Linked DNA regions of Homo sapiens: region 1 is linked to region 2. The links are contacts of gene promoters, found by promoter capture Hi-C in blood cells and fetal thymus (Javierre and others, 2016). All regions are on one chromosome and are shown on one strand. Each heading gives the region's core, a stretch centred on a gene start or on the middle of the fragment in contact. The rest is flanking DNA. Distances are from core to core; before and after follow the strand shown. Region 1 holds the start of FAM180A (family with sequence similarity 180 member A). Region 2 holds the start of AKR1B15 (aldo-keto reductase family 1 member B15).

Region 1 (7,558 bases), core at 1,785-4,284, 1.2 Mb before region 2:
CCACTTGTTAAAGTATCAGTAGCTTGAAATCAGCCATGAGTATTTTCACCAGGGGAATTGGCAGGCACTACAAATGAAAGTTTCTCCCCACCCCTCTAGAACTGGTTTACCAGCACTCCAATAAGGAGTTCCTAAAATATAAGGCTTTAAGGCAAGCGAGGGGAGTGGTTTTGCATGCGGGCTCTGAAATCACATAGATTTCTCTGAGCCTGTTTCTTCATGTGTATAGAGCTCACATATATTCAATGCTTACTATGTACCGGATATTATTCTCAACATTTATACGTATTAATGCATTGATACGAGTTAGTGGGTGCAGCGCACCAGCATGGCACATGTATACATATGTAACTAACCTGCACATTGTGAACGTGTACCCTAAAACTTAAAGTATAATAATTAAAAAAAAAAGAAATTACAAGTTAAAGTGCTGCAGCATAAAGAAGAAAAATAATCATTTATGCCATTTTTAATACAGAACCTATTTCCAAATCAAAACCCTTTACACTTGGAATATTGTCAAATCTCAAATTTTTACCTGGCTGAGATCTACGACCACCTTTTGAAACAGAGACAGTGTAGGTATGATTACTCCCTGTATACTCAAGGGTTAGGAAAATGGAAAAGAACCGTGAGCCCCTCAAGAATGGTGGCTTTTCTTATTGGAATGAAGTAAATAAAATAAATTCATCAGCAATGCATTTAATTTCTCTCTTAGCAATTAATTGTGTATCTACATTGAATGATAACTGTGTAAACAGTCAAGATATGCATGTGGCAAATGAAAAATAAAGCAAAATGTTTTATCTTAAAAAAAAATGCATTGATTCCTTGAAACAACCCTATGAGAGGAAATTATTATTGTCCCCATTCTATAGATGAAGAAAATCAAGCCCAAGAGAGATGAGGGAACTCCACCAATATCACACAGCTAGTCAGTGGCACAGCTGGGATACAAAGACAGGCATCTTGCCCCAGAGCCTGCCCTCTCACCTTCTAGCTCTGCACTGCCCGATACAGGAGCCACTGGCTGCATGGAGCTATCAGGTACTTGAAACAGGGCTGGTGTGACTTGAGAAGTGCTATAAGTGTGAAATACACATTAGATTTCAAAGACCTCATGTAAATATTATATATATATATATAAAATATCTTGCTAATACTATATCACTTACTTGTAGAAATGATAATATCTTGGATATATTGAATTAAATGAAAGATATTATTACTATTCATTGCACTTGTTTCTTTTTACTTTTTCTATTTTTTATTTTTTTGAGATGGAGTTTCACTCGTGTTGCCCAGGCTAGAGTGCAGTGGCACCATCTCGCCTCACCACAACCTTCACCTCGCAGGCTCAAGAGACTCTCCTGCCTCAGCCTCTCGAGTAGCTGGGATTACAGGTGTGCACCACCATGCCCGGCTAATTTTTGTATTTTTAGGAGAGACGAGGTTTTGCCATGTTGGCCAGGCTGGTCACGAACTCCTGACCTCAGGTGATCCGCCTGCCTCGGCCTCCCAAAGTGCTAGGATTACAGGCGTGAGCCACTGCACCCAGCCTCTTTTTACTTTTTTTTAGTATGAGTTGTAGAAAATGTTAAGTGACGTTTGTGATTCACGTTACATTTCTGTTGGAGAGTGCTGCTGGCTAGTGCCCTAACCTCCTAGTTCGGTGGATGCATTAAATCAGTTAATGCAAGGAGGGCACCTAGCACGCTGTCTGAAGCAAATTAAGCACCTAATAGCTATTATTAATATTAGTGAGCGTACTGGTTTTCAAATGTTGTAGTCTAGTATTTTTTCCCCCAAAAAAACTGGTTGTTTTTTTTTTAATTTTTTTAAGAGGAAAGTTCTTACTCTGTCACCCAGGCTGGAGTAGAGTGTTGTGATCATAGCTCACTGCAGCCTTGAACTCCTGGGCCTAAACAATCCTTCTGCCTCAGCCACCTGAGTGACTAGGACTACAGGCACATGCCACCACGCCCAGCTAATTTTTTAATTTTTTGTAGAGACAGGGTCTATTTTCTCTAGGTTGGTCTTGAACTTCTGGCCTCAAGCAATTCCCCCACTTCGGCCTCCCAAAGTGTTGGGATTACAGGCGTGAACCACCATGCCCGGCTCCCAAACAACTTCTTATAGCAGATAAAAGAGGAGCTTTTGCAGTAGAGTAGAGCTTTGAGGAGCCCTCTTGGGGAGCCCATTCACCCTGGGCACCACCTCCACAAACTGGAAAACCCACAGGATGACATAATCTTTAAGTGTCCTTCAAGCTTTAGCATTCCCTATCATTTCAGAGAAGTTGAGGAAGTGATTGGGAAAGAATTAAGGTGTCTATGGCAGTATATTACAACGACTATGGAAAAACACTCCCATTTTGCTTGGGAAAATCAAAGTGGCTTGGCCCCAGGTCTAGGCACAGCCCAGAAATGGGAGCATCACCAATGTGAGTTGTGGGGCTTGGCCCCAGGTCTAGGCACAGCCCAGAAATGGGAGCATCACCAATGTGAGTTGGGGGTCCCCGTGGGCTCCTGGATCATTACCTACGCACGTTCACACAGACAATACCGATGCACCATGTCACCTCTCCACTTCGGCTCGGTCACAACCTGCCAACTCCCCACCCACCCAGAACCTGGGCAGACCAGACACAGGCTCTAGGCGCCAATGTCCTAGTCTAGCTCCAGGGCCAGGCAACAGTGACACTCAGCCCAGGCACCACAATGATTTTGCTGTCCTGAAGGCAACTTAGGCTCAACCAGCCCTGGTGTCTGCCAGGCAGGCTCCCAACTCTGCCTCCAGCCCTCGCCCCTGGCTCTGGTATCGTATGTGTGGACGGGGAGAGCAGCCAACTCTTCGCCGGGCTCTCTAACAAGTTCCGCGGGTCTGTTTGTTAAAGAAAAATTCCAGTGGGTGCATCCAACACATGGAACTCAAGTACAGAAATTATATTTATCCGCCCCACTGCCAAGGAGATCACATGCCCCGTGAGTCACTCCAGATGTGCTCAAAAACAGAGTCTCTCTGTGGAAGGCCAGTTCCCCAATCCCAGAGAGCGTCAAATGAAGAGAGGTACCGACTCCTGTCCCACCCAGGACGCAGCCTTCAGCCTCCAGCCTTCTGAGGCAGAGTAGGCATTTCTGCACGTCTGCAAAAGGAAGGGAGGGAAGCACTCCATCATCTCACTGGGAAGAACGGCACGGGCATACCTGCAGCTACTGGGGTTCCACTGGGCTTGAGGGTCGATTTTTCACCTTTTGAAGGACAAGATGCATTGGAAGATGTTGCTGCTTCTGCTGTTGTATTACAATGCTGAGGCTTCTATGTGCCACAGGTGGAGCAGGGGTGAGTTGCTTTTTATTCATTTGTTTGTTTGATGCTCATTATACTTTCTTCAATGCAATTCAAAATTTGGAGGGAAGGACATTAGAAGCCCCGCACTCTCCTTTTGTCTAATCTCTGTCAATTCCTTGATGCTTCTTGACGTGTTCCCCCTTCTTAGAGGGTGATGGGGAAATGACACTGGAAAAAATCAAAGCTCCTGAGGGAATTAGGTTGAGGTGGAGAACCCAGAGAGTACCCCTTTCTGGCATCCCAGAGAGAACTCATTTCTGCTTCATAGAAAGTAGAACTCATTTCTTCGACTGCCCCCACCACCTGCAGCAGTTGGGCCAGACCGTCTGGAGAGCAGGTGCTGAGACCTGCTGCTAAAATGATGGAGTGATGGGCACTGGGATGCCAAAGGCCTGCTCCCTGGGGGAACCAGAGCAGAAGCTCTGCAGAACGTTGCCTCCTCACCGGGAGGGGATGCATCTCTGCAGCCAGAGGTGGGCAGGTGAGGAGAGCAACCCTTCAACCTCCACTGCACCCACCAGCTCCGCCACCTCCTCACAAAGGAAGGGGCCCCAGCAAAGGCTGTTCTCTTATCACTGACTTCCTCCCCCTCAGGATGTAGTTCCTCCTAGCTGGATGGCATCTTTTCTCCATTTCCCTGGGAGTGGCTCTGCTTGGTAGACACTGGGAGCACCTCGAGCCAGAGTTTATCACTGTTAGGAAAGGAGGGACCCACGGCACTGCCCACTCTTCACCAATATGAACGGAAATCTTTCCACTGCCTAAAGTCAACTGAGTTCACTCTCCTAGAAAGAACCGCAAGAAGAACAGGCTCCTTCAAGTCAGGCCAGTAGGTGTTTCTAGAGATGCAAAATTGGAAGGCAACTGGCATGGTGGCATGGATGCGCCTCCTGCTTGCTTCTCAAGGACAGTGTCAGGGAAGGAAGGAGTGGCCGGAGTGGGGATAGAGCAGCGCGAGAGAAGGATCTGAAATGGGAGGGAGGCAAAAGCTACTGTACTTATGCTGGGTTTTATTTCCTCATGGTTAAACGTGACATTAGGGACTTACATCTCTAACAGGGATATAAGTCTTTTGAGCTGAGCTGTGAAGTGATCGTTGCCCAGAAACAAATAATACAGCATTCTTCATTTTTCTCATAACAACCTTGCATACACATGCACATACACACGTACACCCCTCCCTTTTCTTTTTTTAATTTTTAATTTTTAATTTCTGTGGGCACATAGTAGGTATACATATTTATGGGGCCTATGAGATGTTTTGATACAGGCACGTCACATCATGGAAGATGGGGTATCCATCCCCTCAAGCATTTAGCCTTTGTGTTACAAACAATCCAGTGATACCCTTTTAGTTACTTTTATTTGTTATTTATTTACTTATTTATTTATTTTTGAGACGGAGTCTCACTCTGTTGCCCAGGCTGGAATGCAGGGGTGCAATCTTGGTTCACTGCAACCTCCGCCTCCCAGGTTCAAGCGATTCTCGTGCCTCAGTCTCCTGAGTAGCTGGAGTTACAGGTGCGCACCACCACGCCTGGCTAATTTTTGTATTTTTAGTAGAGATGGGGTTTCACCATGTTGGCCAGGCTGCTCTCAAACTCCTGACCTCAAGTGATCTGCCCACCTCAGCCTCCCAAAGTTCTGGGATTATAGGCATGAGCCATAGTGCCTGGCCCTCTTTTAGTTCTTTTTAAATGTACAATTAAATTGTTATTGACTGTAGTCACCCTGTTTTCACACCTCCCTTTTCATTGTGTGCACAAACTTTGAGGTAGCACTTGGAAGTAAAAAGCAAAGAGATCTTGGAGTTGGGTTCTGTCACTCCCCTCTTTGTCACACTGGGGATTTGCTTATTAAACAGGGTAACAGTGCCCACTCTTCCTAAGGCACAGGCTATTACAAAGCCAAAAGGGATTATTTGACTTGCAATATGGTTTGTAAACACGATAGCCACATCATGAGCTACTCTGCAAGGGTCCTGGTTTAAGTTCCATCTCTATTTGGCAATGTGATCTCAGACAAGTCTCTTAACCTCTCTGAGCTTTAGTTCACTAACGGGTGACATTAACATCCATCACATCAATAAAACCCTCATGCTATTACTGTGAGGGTCATATTCAAAAATATAGATGAAAATACTTTGTAAATGACAAAGCACAATATAAATATTAGCTATTGCCTACCAGTTTTTGAAAAATAAAAATTTTTCATTAAAGGAAGTTTAAGGCTCTTAACAGGGGAATCTACAGCAACATTCTGGGAGCAACTTCTCCGGGCCATGTCCTTCCGCATTGGGGAAGGTCTTTCCACAGTGAGTTCACAATCCACTGACTCAAAGCCAGCCAAACCGAGGTCACTATGAGGCAGCGGATGTGACGTGCTAGATTAATGGCTCAAGTCAGCGCTGAGTCAACAAATGATACAGAGTCCCTCCAACCATCATCAAATGTCTTCCGCGTAGTTGATTTTTTTTTCATTTTTAACATTTTTTTCTAATTATAAAAGAAATACACAATTCTTGCCATCTTTTTTTTCAAGACTGAATAGGAGTCACACCCAAATGAGTAAGTTTTTCCAAATGTATTATTCATTTCACCTTCATCCTTACCCCCACCCTACCTCCAGCCTCAATTCAAAGTACTCCCTTTGGAAACAGTCTTAGGGCAATCTCTTCCAGAGCTTTTCCTCTTCCACCCCCTGCCCTTTGGCCCCCAGCCCCACCACTACCCCGTGTCCATCCTCCCACCCTCCTGCTCCAAAATGTAAATGTAGATGTAAACCCACAGGCAATATGCGCCTTGTTGTTAGCACTGTCTTTTTCCTACCATCCTCCCAGCCTTTCCCTAAGCGCTCTCTAGGATTCCACCCTGGGAGGCAGCTTTCCATGCCAGGATCCAGGATCACCCATTCCAGCCCCACCAGTTTGATGAAGACCAAATGACTCACCTGTGGCCAAGCCAGGAAAGCCACATCTACACACACACACACATACACACACACAGAAACACACACACACACACACAGGTGGCCCACGTCCCAGCACATACCAGGTCCTGCCAGGGCACCACTGGAAGGGGGAGGACTAGCCAGACTTGAGAAAGAATTATGCACCTATTAAGGATATGAATGAAATATGCACCTATTAAGGATATGAATAGCTATGCTTTTGTTGAATACATACAAGTTATTTTTTAAGTAGTTTAATAGAGCAGCCCTTCCATTTTTTGGTGGACCTTATGTCATTTTCAGGTGTCCATTTAAGGGTTGTGTGTGTCCTCAGTCATGAATGTTCCATGAGGGAAAGGCCTGTGGTCAGTACTCAGTAAGTACTCACTGACTGCCGGGCACGGTGGTGCACGCCTATAATTCCAGTGACTCAGGGGAAAGTTAAAAAAAAAATTAGCTGGGTGTAGCAGCACATGCCTGTAGTCCCAGCTACTCAGAAGGTTAAGGTGGTAGGATCACTTAAGGCAAGGAGATCAAGGTGGTAGGATCACTTAGGCCCAGGAGGTCAACGATGCAGAGAGCTATGATTGCGCCACTTCACTCCAGCCTGGATGATGGAGCAAGACCCTGTATCCAAAAAGAAAATTGTTTTAAGTATTCACTGCCCAAGTGCCCCATACAGAGCCATCTCCTCTCTCCATAGTAACTCTGTGAGGCAGGTGCTATCCTAACCATTTACAGGTTAGAAAATTGGAGAGTGAGGCAAGAAGTGAAGTGACCCAGCTCCCCCAGCTGCAAGGGCAGAGTTGAATTTGATCCCCCAGGTCCATCTGCTGGCAGAGTGCCCCGTCCTCATTCATCCGCTCTGCATATTTCTCCATCCCCCATGGGCCACTCACCTGCTCCCGGCAGCCCCAAGCTCCCCCCTACATGGTGGAGCTTTCCAGCCAAGAGGAGCTGGCTGCCAGAGCCCTTTCAGGAGCTCTCCCAGAGGACCCCCACGCACAGGGCCGAGACCCTGGCTCGCTCAGAATAGCACTCTGTTTCCAGAGGGCTGGCCCAGGAGTCAAAAAGTAAATGACATCAGTCAGATCTGGCAAAAGATCTTTTACAAACGAGAGCTTTTCCTTTCCACACCCACCGTCCTTTCCATCGAGTTGCTTCAACTGATTCATTAAAAATACAGTTGGAGTTTGGCTTGAGATGGTCTGCAGCTTGAATCCTTTCCAACAAGCTCTTTGCCACAAATGCTATGCAC
Region 2 (7,163 bases), core at 4,035-6,534:
AACCTTCCTGATTTTTACTGGCTTGAAGATCCGAAGCTTGTTTTTCTTCCTCTGGGGAGTATTCTGGGTAGTCTGCCCAGTCAGTTGTGGAAAGGACACAGAGGGCAGCAGGGTTAAAGGCACGACCAGGAGCTGAGCTGCCTCTCAAGCTGCAGAGTCTGCTCTTTGGTTACCACGAGCAATGGCCATGTCTTCTCTTTGATGTCCTTTGCAGTGAATTGCAGCCACCTGTTGAGGGAGCCAAACAGCTTCAAGCAGGGCTAAAATTTCTTCTTTGTTGTTGACACTCTTTCCTGCTGAGGTGAGTAGCCCTCGCTCTTGATAGATGGCTCTGTGTACATGTACAGTAGCAAAAGCATACCTGCTGTCAGTGTAGATGTTAATACATTTGTCTTTACCCTATTGGAGGGCCTGAGTCAGGGTTACCAACTCAGTCCTCTGTGCCAAGGTACCTGCCGGCAGTGCCTGGGCCTACAGTACATCTGTCTCCATAGTAATGGCCACACCAGCCTTCTGTACTCCCTGTTCAAGGAAGCTGCTACCATCTGTAAACACGGTGGCATCCACCTCCTTTAGAGGCACATCTTGGAGATGAGGTCAGCCAGTTTCCATAGTTTCTAACAGTTCTTGGCAGTCATGGACAGGTGTGGTAAGGTCTGGATCAGGGAACAAGGTAGCTGGATTTAAACACCTTGTGGGAGAGAAAGTTAAACGCGGCTGATCTAACAGTAAACTCTGATACCGCAAGATGCGAGCATTCGACATCCATTTGCCAGAAGCACTTTGTAGCAAGGTCTCTACAGCATGAGGAGCCGTAAGGGTTAAATTCTGGCCCAGAGTCAGTTTATCAGCCTCCTGGACCTGGCTTGCTGTTGCCACTATGGCTCACAGACAACTTGGCCACCCAGAGGCCACAGGGTCCAGTCTCTTAGACAAATAGGCCACTGGGTGTTGCCATGGCCCTAAAGTCTGAGTAAGTACCCCTTTAGCGACTCCTTGGTTTTCATGAACAAAAAGGTGAAATGGTTTTGAGATATTTGGGAGGGCAAGAGCAGGGGCCTCAGTTAGTGCCTTCTTCAGATTTTGAAAAGCCTGTTCTTCTTTGTCAGTCCAAACCAGCGGGGTATTCCCTCCAGTAGTGGTGTACAGGGGTTTGGCAATTTCCATGAACCCCAATATCTATAGGCGACCATATCCCACGGTGCCCAGGAATTCATGTACCTGTCTCTTAGTGGTGGGAGTGGGGATTTGAAGGATGGCTGCCTTTCGAGCACTGGTGAGTGCCCTTTTTCCTTCATTTGTCTCATACCCTAGGTAGGAAATGCTGGGAAGAAAAAGCTGGGCCTTCTTGGCTGGGACCTGATACCCGAATTCCTGAAGGAGGTAAAGTAGGTCCGTAGTATGTTGCAGGCAGCTGTCAGTAGTTTCAGTAGCCAATAACAGGTCGTCTACATACTGGAGAAGAGTGCAGTTAGGGTGACTGGCTCAGAATGGTAAAAGATCCTGTTGGAGGGCTTCCCTAAAAAGGGTGGGGGAATTTTTAAAACTTCGGGGTAACCAAGTCCAGGTTAATTGGGTGGTGTCTACCGAGCCAGGATATGTCTGTTCAAAAGCAAAGATAGGTTGACTTTTGGGGCCAGAGGAATAGCAAAAAAAAGCATCCTTGAAGTCAAGGACAGTGTACACCATATGTTCTGGTGGGAGCAGGCTGAGTAAAGTATAAGGGTTAGAGACAGTTGGATGGACAGTGACTGTCTGCTTGTTACCTTCCTGCAAGTCCTGTACAGGCTGGTAATCATTTGTTCCGGGTTTCTGGACCGGCAAAAATGGAATATTCCAGGCGATCTCACATGGTGTGAGTATACCAGCTTGTAATAGTTGCTGAATATGAGGATTAATTCCCTCTATAGCCCACAGAATCATAGGATATTGTTTGACCTGGACCGGCAGGGTGGTGGCCAGGAGTTCTACAACAGCTGGCAGATGGTGGTTTGCCAGTCCTGGGAGGTATGAGGAAACAGAGTCTGTAAAGCCAGTAGGAGAGGATTACTTTTATTCTCCGGCAGTTGTGAGGGTGAAACTAAGAGATATTCCTCTGACCGAAGGGTGGTTAGCAGGAGCTGAGCAGTAGGGGGCATTGTGTCCCCTAACATGAGGTGAGTTTGTTGGGCCGAGAAGGAGATGGACGCCTGTAGCTTATGAAGCAGGTCTCATCCGAGGAGGGAGAAGGGGCACTCTGGGACCACGAGGAACAAGTGGGTTACTCTTTTCTGTCCTAAACTCACCTCTCGTGAGTGGGTGACAGGATATTCCTGAATAGCTCCAGTAGCCCTTTACTCAGCAACCTTTTTATTAGACACTGCCTAAGGGTGTCTGGAGTACTGAGTGTTCCACCCCGGTGTCAATTAGGAAGCGTACAGGCTGGCCCCCCACTGTGGTGGTCACCATGGGTTCCCGGGGCCAAGTGACAAAGAGCCCTGGCCCCGTCAATCATCAGATTCCTCTGCTGCGGGGCAGGGTGAGGACCTTTTTCTTTTCTGGTTTCTCCTCTGGCTTTAATGGGCATTCCTTTCTCCAGTGTCCAATCTGCTTGCAAGAAGCACATTGGTTTCTTTATAGGGGAGTCCTCTCACGTTTCTGGCCTTCCTGGTGGGGACTCGGGGTCCCCTGGTCAGTGCTCTGTGATGGGGGCCCTTCCTTTTTGGCTTCTTGGATGGCAGCCACTAAGCTTTTTGCCTGTCTTTTTGATGCTTTGTCTGCAGCCCTTTCAGCTGCCTGAGCTACCTGTTTTTGCTTTTCAAATTCTCGATTGTCGAAAACTCTCTGGGCTATCTCTAAAAGCTGGCTGATGTAAGGAAATACTTTCTGGCTTCTCTTCAGATATGGTCCCTCTCTTCAGAGGTGAAAAGGGATGAAAGGAGTTGCTGACACTCATCCCAGGTGGGCCGGTGAGTCTGGAGCACAGACTCCATCAGTGAGGTTAAGACCTGGGGCTTTTCAGAAAAGGGGGGATTATGAGCCTTCCAGTTGTACAGGTCAGAAGTAGAGAAGGGGACATAAACTAAAAATGGAGCACAACGCCCACTGCCCAAAGGGATTTGGGCCTCTGTCAGTGGGAGGAGCGGGGCCACCTCCTCCGGCTGAGGCCATAATTGGGAGGATATAGGCAGAGAGGCCACAGAGGATGTAGTTGAGGAGACAAGGGAAGATTCTGGGGGAGGAGGAGGGTTATAGGGTGGTGGAAATGGGTGAAGAAAACTTTCCTCTTCTTCAGAAGGAGGCAGTACAGGAGGAATCGAGGGAGCTGAGGGTGGAGGCAAAAGTGAGGTCTGGCTAAAAAGGACCTTGGAGGTAGGATCACGAATGGCTACAGAGTTTTATCACGAGTGGAGCCATGAAGGAGAGCTCTGGACTAAATCTAGCCATTGATCAATGTAGGGAAACTGATCGGGGTGACCGGGAGTTCCAACAACGACCCACCACACAGCCTGAACAGCTGTGAAGTGTAGTGACCCGTCTGGGGGCCACCCAGTTCCAAACTTTGGCCATTCTACTTCGCAGAGTGTCCAGAGTTTGCCTTTTTTAAGGCGGACCCCGTAATCATCTGAGAAGCCTAGAGAGAAATTCTGCAACATACACTGGAGAGGACTCCAATCTTTATGGGGCCGGGAAGAAGAGTTTACTATTCTGGAGGCAATTAACAAGGTTTGAACAAAAATATTAAACCCAGCATGGACAAAGATATTCACGGCCTGGGAGGCTATGGTATCAGAAGAACAGAAGTATTATAGCTAGAAGAAGTAGGAAAACAACTATAGCCAATATTTCTTGCCACATAAGGTCTGTCTCCTCAAGCTTCGAGATCTATGGAGAGGATAAGAGGTGGGTCCAAGGGATCCTCAGCCAGTGGGACTTAGGTGACCCCCCCTTCTTGACTTATATCCCAAATAACTTTGGTGTCTCCACGACTCGAAAGCAAAATGTTCAAACTCGGTCCTTTCCTTCACGGGTTTAAGGAGGGAGAACACAGCCAAGTCTTAGAGACGCTGGACTTGCTGCAACACAGGAAAATGAGATGTGCAGGGTAAGGGATGGGGATGAGGAGGAAAGGGGCCACTTGGATTTCCCTAAAGGTTGGAGAGTAGCCAAAAGAGGTAAAATAAGAGTCCAGACAGAGTAGAGCAGTATGGGTGTAGGTTTCTCTGCACAGTGCCTTATTTAAGGGCATGGGAAAAGTTATGGGATGACAGAAAAGGTGAGTAAGGAGGTCAGCAGGGTGGCTATTTTGGATCCACCACTGGTCTAAGGAGAAGGTGGACCAGTCGTTGGGGCGTGGGGTATGGCAATCCAAACGCCAGCAATCTTTATGGTGCCAGAAATCCTAAACGGGTGAATGTCTTCCACACCCTTCCCCATAACAACACCTAATTTGTTTCTGACAGGAAAGGCAGGACTGGGATGGCCAGCCCAACCGACTAATGAGGAATTTGACCTCCTGGGATAGAAAATCTGTACTAAGGACCTTGAAGAAGTCCTTGCCCAGTCATTTTGGGCAGTATCGACGATCCGACATATGAAATTTAGACAGACACTAAACAGGACAATAGGCACTGGGGTATATAAACAAGCATGGCAATTTTTATAGACAGACAAGGGGAGGGGGTCCCGTGATGGGATCAGTCAGATGCCCTCCTGGCTGCTCCCCTTTCGGGGACTTAGGCTCCTCTTGGCATTGGCAGGCTGGTATAAACCCCTGGCTTGGATCGAGCTATGCCTGATGCCGCCCTAAGCCTTATGAGGTCACCACGGAACCACAGGTGAGGGCCTTCTCGAATTCCCTAGCTTTCACCCTGGAGCTACAAACTGGAAATTCAAGCGCAAGCCCTTGAACTCCACATTCACTCACTCACTCACTCACTCAGAGTTTATTACAATTTTTATACCCATTCTAAAACAGAGATCTCCCGGAGACCTGAATGAGAGAGGGAGAAGAGATAGAGAGAGAGAGAGACTAGACTTAACAGAGAATCCTGACAGAAACCAGGACTCTGTCCTCCAGTGTCCTGGAGCATGGACAGAGTCTGAGGGAGGACCTTCGTCAGGGCCGTTTCCCTCCCAGAGAGACAGAGTCAGATCTGACTTACCTTCCCGGGACTAGAGACTGAGGACTCAGGAGTTGAATTTGGCTGGGCGCACCGGCAGTCGATCCGTTCCCCTCCAGAAGACAGTGGCCTGTGGAGCCCTGGAACGTCTTCAGGTGGCCCTGTAAGCCAGCTGTCTGTCTGGGGAAGCCCGGAATGAGTCAGGTCTTCACCCGGTGGCGAATCTCTCTGGGGCTTCCAAATGTCGTAACCGAGCAAGTCATAGAGAGAATGCCACACTCTGAGACTAATTCAGGAGTCCTTTATTGCTGGCGACTGAGAAAGAGCTAGAGCTTGAAATTCTCTCGGTCCGGAAGAAGAGGCTAGAGTTCTTTTTATACCTTGGCCTAAAGAGGGGAGGGGGAGTCTAGCTGAAGCAATTTTTTACAGAAGCAGAACAGGAAAAAATTAAAAGATAAATGGTTACAGAAACAGTTACAGGAAAATAAACAGTTCCAGGTGCAGGGGCTTAAAGTATCCCAAAGTGATAAAAGCAGGGGCTTTGGATACCACCAACCAAGTGTGCTCCCAGGAGCTGCTGGTACAGCTTGCCTCAGTATCTTATCAATAAGCGCATTCTTGGATGTGCTTGGAGTCAGCTTGCACCAGTTATGTCCTTAAGGAGGGGGACAAGGGGCTGCAAGCGAAGAAACCAAGCTAAGACTCTCTCAGCTATTGACTCTCTCGATATTGACTCTCAATTGAGTCTCCCAAGCTATTGACTCTCTCAGCTAAGAAAGAGTCAATCAGGATAAAACAAGATAGGGTATCACAATTTGATCTGCAAGATTATTTCCTGGACTTGTGAAAGGCGAGTCGTTTTGGTGCCCTGGGACATGTACAATAGCTATCTCTTCTGGCAATTGGAGATTGTTGAGGACACGAGCATCAGTTCTCTATGAACTAAATCTTGGCCTCTACTATTGATAAGAGCCCTCTCCATCCAAATTTTCCCAAATGTGTGTGCCTCCCCAGAGGGATACTTAGAGTCAGTATAGATAGATTTTCTTGGTTTTGTAAATGTCCTAAAGCTTGGCTGAGTGCAAACAGTTCACACCCTTGGACAGACCAATTATTAGACCCCCTTCCTGATTTTACTTTTTTAACAGTCTTTCCATTAATCACTGAATACCTATTATGTCTCTTTCTTTTAATCACCTGGGAGGTTCCATCTATGAATAAGTGCCACCCTGTCTTGAAGGGAGTTTTTCCTAAGTCTGGTTGAACTTTCGTATGGTAATTAATTCGATTTAAACACGCGTGCTCTCTCGTTTTACGTTTGGATCCCCCGTTAAAGAGCCTGCTGAATAAAGTGAATTATTAGTACTTAATATTAAATCACCTTTTTCCCAGAAAGATAGCCTCATATTTTAAAATTTTTGAGTTGGTAATCTCCCTCCTTGCGTTTTGATTTAATATAGTTTTAACTTGGTGGGTTGTGGCCTGAAGCGGCTGGGGAGTAACTTGAAACCTCAGCTGAAGGGACAGCACAGGCTGGGGCGTGGCCTGAAACAGCTGGGGAGTAACCTGAAACCACAGCCGGAGGGACCTGAGAGGGGAACCAAAGGGGCAGGATTGGGGGCGCTGAAGGAAGGAAGGTGATTTAGAGGATCCCATGTCTTGGTAGGTATGGGTTGTCTAGGCATGGGAACTCTTTCCTTTTTAGAAAGGTTGGTTTCTGATTTTCTCCCTCCAGAGTCTAAAGGGTAAAGGAGAACTGGTCCCTGCCGCCAGCAGAGGGCGTAATCGATTTTTCCTGGGACACAGGGCTCTTACTGTTAACATATTTGATTAACAGCTGACAAATTCGCTCTTCATTAGACTTAAATTTTGGCCAGAAAAGTGAGGGCTTAAGGATGGGTTCTCGAACTTAAATAAAACAACAATATTCTATCATCTGCTGTTTTTGTTTATACTTGGTTCTCTTATTATTTTTTCAATACTTTAGCATAAGCCCCAAGGGGCTATCAGAAGGAAATTCATCACTCTCTAGACTCTTTAGTTTTCCTGTCTTACTTGAAA

What was found. The method cuts DNA at HindIII sites, captures the fragments that hold promoters and counts their contacts. A CHiCAGO score of 5 or more calls a contact.
Region 1: a contact is called between the fragment with the promoter of FAM180A here and the fragment with the promoter of AKR1B15 in region 2, in 4 of 17 cell types (naive CD8 T cells, total B cells, total CD8 T cells and 1 more). The highest score is 10.9, in naive CD8 T cells.

What each region holds. Positions count from the first base shown.
Region 1 is chr7:135,744,289-135,751,846 of GRCh38, reverse strand. FAM180A (family with sequence similarity 180 member A) reads left to right here and starts at 3,034. Exons shown (of 4, transcript NM_205855.4): 1 at 3,034-3,342. The coding sequence starts at 3,267. RefSeq lists an enhancer at 5,397-6,596. The HindIII fragment of the contact is 5,471 bases long and covers 2,273-7,558 here.
Region 2 is chr7:134,547,231-134,554,393 of GRCh38, reverse strand. It overlaps AKR1B15 (aldo-keto reductase family 1 member B15), which reads right to left and starts at 5,284. Exons shown (of 12, transcript NM_001080538.3): 1 at 5,145-5,284. It overlaps LOC105375520 (a long non-coding RNA gene), which reads left to right. Exons shown (of 3, transcript XR_928005.3): 1 at 1-301; 2 at 1,315-1,383; 3 at 1,778-7,037. RefSeq lists an enhancer at 5,214-5,273. The HindIII fragment of the contact is 2,317 bases long and covers 3,858-6,174 here.